Regions from separate parts of the Homo sapiens genome. Here region 1 is linked to region 2. Evidence: promoter capture Hi-C in 16 types of primary human blood cells and fetal thymus (Javierre and others, 2016). All regions are on one chromosome and are shown on one strand. The core of a region is centred on a gene start or on the middle of the fragment in contact, and the rest is flanking DNA. Distances in the headings are between cores, read along the strand shown. Region 1 overlaps LINC02733 (long intergenic non-protein coding RNA 2733). Region 2 holds the start of MYRF-AS1 (MYRF antisense RNA 1).

Region 1 (2,700 bases), core at 16-2,515, 310 kb after region 2:
CAATATTATCACAAAAGACTATGACAAGGGCTATGGGAGTTATGAGCCAGAAACCATGGGTGAGAACCAATACATATGTATCATAATGTCACACCAACTAACCAGCTCTGAAGTTTTCACTTTTCCCTGGAGCTTTCTATTTCTTCTGCTATCTTTTTTCCTTTTTTTTTTTTTTTTTTTTTTTTTGAGTTTCACTCTTGTTGCCCAGGCTGGAGTGCAATGGCCTGGTCTTGGCTCACCACAACCTCTGCCTTCTGGGTTCAAGTGATTCTCCTCCTCAGCCTCCGGAGTACCTGGGATTACAGGCACCTGCCACCACGCCTGGCTAATTTTGTATTTTTAGTAGAGATGGGGTTTCTCCATGTTGGTCAAGCTGGTCTCAAACTCCCAACCTCAGAAGATCCACCCACCTCGGCCTCCCAAAGTGCTGGGATTACAGGCATGAGCCACAGCGCCCAGCCTATTTCTTCTGCTTTCTTGTGGGCTATTTCTCCCCCTTGATCTTCTCTTCCAATGTTCCTTCCTCCTTTGCCTGGGAAGGCCCTGATGAACACCACCAGACTTGGATACCCACCTACCGATGGAGCAAATGAAGAGAGGATCAAGGACAAAGCCCTTTAACGTCCCTCCATCTTGGTGCCTCCCTCACCAGCACTCAGACCAGAAGTATCAGGCAGAGAAGAAGCCTTAAAAACTCTTTCCACAGTGTCCAGCCTTGGAGGAATTGGAGAACAGCAGCTAAAGCCTGAATTTGAGGGATAAAGATAAAGTATGGAGAAGGCCGAAATTAAACCCAAATCTGTATCAACTCAGGGCTTTCACAGGCAGCAAAGACCCCTAGATCTATCATGAATCTGAGTCATTGCCTTGTAGCCCCTATCTAGCAGTTGATCTGTTGATATTTCCATTCTTCATTCAATTTCAACTTACAAGGGGACTTCTCTCACACCAGCACTCCACAAACTGTTGTGGGTGATGCCAAGACACCAAACGACAACATCCAGCCCTTAGTGAGCTGGTGGTGGGAATGTGAGAAGCACATGGAAGATACATGCTGGTCTCTATGGTTAGTTCAGCATCCAACTGCACACACAGTTGATGCATGCCAGAGGAGTTCAAAGGAAGGTATATTTAGGGACTGTATTAGTGTCCTCTGGGTGCCGTCACAAAGTGCCACAAGCTGGGTGGCTTAAAACAGCAGAGATTTAGGCCGGGCGTGGTGGCTCACACCTGTAATCCCAGCACTTTGGGAGGCCGAGGTGGGTGGATCACCTGAGGTTGGGAGATCGAGACCAGCCTGACCAACACGGAGAAACCCCGTCTCTACTAAAAATACAAAAATTAGCTGGGCATGGTGGCGGGTGCCTGTAATCTGAACTACTCGGGAGGCTGAGGCAGGAGAATTGCTTGAACCTGGGAGGCACAGGTTGTGGTGAGCTGAGATTGCGCCACTGCACTCCAGCCTGGGCAACAAGAGCAAAACTTCATCTCAAAACAAACAAACAAACAAACAAACAAACAAAACAGCACAGATTTATTCTCTCATAGCTTTGAAGGTGAAAAGTCCAAAATTTCCAGGCAAGACTCCTTCCTCAATTAGGAGTCTTCAGCTGTTGGTTGTTGCCAGCTATCCATACCATTCCTTGGCTTTGTAACTGCATCACCCTGATTCTGTCTTCATCTTACATGGCTGTGTTCTTTCTGTGTGTGTCTCTGCCTCTGTGACCAAATTTCTCTCTTCTTACAAAGAAGAAGTTATAGCCCACCTGAATCCAGTATTACCTTATTTTTACTTGGTTACATCTGTAAAGATCCTATTTCTTTTTTTATTTTAACTCAGCTAAAAAAGATCACATTTCCAGGCTGGGCGTGGTGGCTCATGCCTGTAATCCCAACACTACGGGAAGCCAAGGTGGCAGGATCATTTGAGCCCAGGAGTTCGAGACCAGCGTGGGCAACATGGCGAAAGTCTGTCTCTACAAAATAATACAAAAATTAGCCAGGAGTGGTGGTGCGTGCCTATAGTTGCAGCTACTTGGGAAGCTGGAGCAGGAGGATCTCTTGAATCTGGGAGATGGAGAGTGCAGTGAGCCAAGGTTTCGCCACTGCACTCCAGCCTGGGCGACAGAGTGAGTCCCTGTCTCAAAAAAAACTAAAACATAAAAGGAAAGAAAAGATCTTATTTTTTTTAATTTTTATATTTTTTGAGACAGCATCTCGCTCTGTCGCCCAGGCTGGAGTGCAATGGCATGATCTCGGCTCACTGCAACCTCCACCTCCTGGGTTCAAGCGATTCTCCTGCCTCAGCCTCCCGAGTAGCTGGGACTACAGGCACCCGCCACCACGCCCAGCTAATTTTTATACTTTTAATAGAGACGGGGTTTCATCATGTTGGCCAGGATGGTCTCAATCTCTTGACCTTGTGATCCACCCGCCTTGGCCTCCCAAAGTGCTGGGATTACAGGCGTGAGCCACCGCGCCCAGCCAGAAAAGATCTTATTTTTAAATAAAATCATGTTCACAGGGACTGGGGTTAGGACTTGAATATATCTTTTGAGGGGACACAATGCGACCTATACCAGGTAGATAAAACAAAGGCTGGACAAAGTGATTGATTTTTCACTGTAGAGGTCACAGGACTGTACCCCTGGGCTTGGAACCGAGAATCAGGGAAGAATATAATGAAAGATCAAAGATGCT
Region 2 (2,700 bases), core at 1-2,500:
GGAATCCGGGGGCTGAGCTGGGCTTCGTGATGGGGGTGGCACTGTGGCCCGTGTCAGCCTGTCTCTGTCTGTCCCTGGTGCACCCAGGGAGTAAGTAGATGGGAGGGGTGGCCAGGCACAGGGTTTCCTGAGCCCAGGCAGGGGAGGAAATGGTAGTAGGGGGTCTGACTCATCCCCATGTCCCCAGCACCCAGTGCAGGGCAGGGGTGGGGGGTGGGCAGGAAGTGCTCTCCGGGTCAATGGTGACAACAATGGGTATGTGAACAGAGGCGGCGGGGGTGGGGGACGCACCCCAGAAAGCACCTCTCTGGAGGGCCTGGGGTCAGTGCAGGGGTGAGAAACAGGCAGTTACCAACCCTTTGGCCTCAGGGACTCTCCTGAGACTGGAAGGCTGGACAGAGTGCTCCTTGGGGTCTTAAGTAGAGCCAAGGAGGGCATTTGAGGGCAGAATGGCCTTTTCCCTGGGGGCCTGACTCCCCAATTACCAACTCCCAAGGGGTTACAGACTGGAGGGCCCTGGCAGCAGAGGCTGCTGGGTAACAGCCCAGCAGAGCTGCTCATTGGCTGCCACCCTTGGACTTTGCCCTCCCTGATAAGGAACTGGGAGCAGAAATTATTAACTGAATCATTAACTGGGTGGCCCCGCCCTACCCAGGCAGCCTGCCTTACCTTCCCACCTTCCTCTTCACGGACCTAGCACCTTCCTGGGCCTCAGTTTCTCTCATTGCCTTGGGTGCTGGAGTATGTGGGGCCTCCTCTCCTATCTCCAGGCCTTCAGCCCCGGCTGCCACGGGGTGTGGGTACCTCTTGGTTGGGTCTCGGGGTAGGATGATGTAATGGTTCTGTGCATTCGCCAGCGAGGGCAGCTGGGGTCTGTTCCTAGCTCTCCTGCTTACCCACAGTGCTTCTCTTGGCCGTATCAGGGCACCGCTGTGCCTCCGCTTTCTCATCTGTAAAACGGGAGTGCAGTTGTAATGGCAGGGCCTCCGTCCCAGGGTTTCTGGGGTGATTAGGTAAGATTGTGCCTGGCCTGGTGAACACTCCATTGGTCCATGGCAGGTGTTCTGCGCCCTACCTTGAAGATTACTGGTCCCCAGGGTAGGTCAGTGCCCCTAAGCTTAGGGGGCTTGTTGAGCATGTTCTGTGGTTCTGTGTGCAAGGCCTGAACCATGACAGCTCTGGCCCAGCGTGGCCTGGTCCTGGTCCCTGGCACATCCAGTGGGGCCCGCCCCACCTCCCCCTCTGAGATTTGGGTTCTGTTCTTGCTGCCAGCAAGGAGGAGGGGCTTGGCTGTATTGTGACTTCATCTGCTGCACCCAGGCTCTTTGCACGTTGTCTTCCTGGAGTCCTGGGGTGCAGTGGAAGCGTGGGTGACGGCCTCCCATTTCTGAGGGGGACTGTGAGGCAGGACAGGAAGGCGATGATGTGTCAGGCTCCCTCAAGGTGGCCACAACAGAGCTGGGACTGGAGCCTGGGTCCCAGCTCTGTGCCAGCCTGGGATGGGCAGGGAAGGGGCCTCTCCTCCTGACATGCTGAGGGGTGGCTCCAGCACGGGTGGCCACGCCAGGTGATGTCCGTGCAGCCTCCTTGACCTCTCTAGACCTCAGAGCCCTCACTCACATGGTCAAGGTTGGGTGATGTTAGCAGTTAGATCCCACGAGTGCCAAGGCCTGGAGTGAGGGGGGGAGGGGCAAAGCCCCTGGGTGGGGAGTACAGTTGGGTCCGGAGCCCCCTGCCGGCCTAGAGTATGGAGGGGGCTCCCGGACATTCTGTCCTCCCTGTGCCCCAGGTCGCATCAGTGAGGGAAGTTCTCCCTCCAGCTGACCGGGGTCCGTGCAGCCACCGGAGTGCACAACCACAGCCTCTGTCTCTCCTTTGTGGAGTTTGAGGATCCTATCTCCCTCCGGCCTCCCTCACTCCCCTCTCTTCTCCCTCTATGGCTGGGGCAAGGGGATCCCCATCCCCTGCCCTGCTAGCTTGGAGGAGGGAAGTTGTGCCTGTGACACTGAGTTCACTCAGTGGGGCCTGGCTCCAGCCGGAGCTGCTTAGGGAGGGTCTGACAGCAGGCGGGGAGGGGGCTTGGAGGGAAGAAGAGGAGGTGGGAGCTCTTCCTGGGTGGCCACTAACCTAACCCATGCATGTGACGCTGTGCCTGTGGGCCTGGGCCTGTCGTCGGGTCAGTGAGTGTTTGTGTACATGCGTGTCCTGGCATATACACCTGTGAAGTGTGCTGAGGTGTGAACATGCACAGGCATGCTCGTACCTCAGGGCTTTTGCACCGGCTGTCCCCGCCATCTGGAACCTTCTAGAATGCTAGGCATTTTGCTGCTCTCGTCATCTGACTCTGCTCCCTAGAATGTCAGCTCCATGTGGGCAAGGCTTTTGTCCCTTTTGCTCACTGCTGTAGCCCCAAAGCTGGGCACTATGCTTGCCTGGCACATAACAGGTGCTCAGTAAATAACTGCTGAATGAATGAAGGCACACGGATGAACGCTGGTGTGCGCATGTGTGTGGGTATATGTGTGGGGCATGCCACTGTGTGTCAGTACTGTGTATGTGTGAGTAGGGGGCAGGTGGTACGTGATCATGCGCATGTCAGTGGATACCTGACTGCAGGGTGTGCCCTTACATATATGTGTGTGTGTTGGCAGTGTGCCTGCGTGGGGCCACGCCGGTGTGTAGGCACAGATGGGCACAGGT

Evidence for each region. Contacts are between HindIII fragments. The CHiCAGO score rates a contact against its expected background, and 5 or more counts as called.
Region 1: a contact is called between a fragment that was not itself captured here and the fragment with the promoter of MYRF-AS1 in region 2, in 1 of 17 cell types (neutrophils). The highest score is 5.4, in neutrophils.

Annotation. Positions count from the first base shown.
Region 1 is chr11:62,064,625-62,067,324 of GRCh38, forward strand. The region is part of intron 1 of LINC02733 (long intergenic non-protein coding RNA 2733); the gene reads right to left. Among named protein-coding and RNA genes, the nearest start is that of LINC02733, 16 kb to the right of the region's middle. The HindIII fragment of the contact is 8,726 bases long and covers 1-2,700 here.
Region 2 is chr11:61,756,414-61,759,113 of GRCh38, forward strand. It overlaps MYRF-AS1 (MYRF antisense RNA 1), which reads right to left and starts at 1,251. Exons shown (of 4, transcript NR_026882.1): 1 at 1,076-1,251; 2 at 670-950. All of the region lies in intron 1 of MYRF (myelin regulatory factor), which reads left to right. RefSeq lists enhancers at 1-838, 1-347, 348-991, 432-481, 992-1,635. The HindIII fragment of the contact is 8,901 bases long and covers 1,116-2,700 here.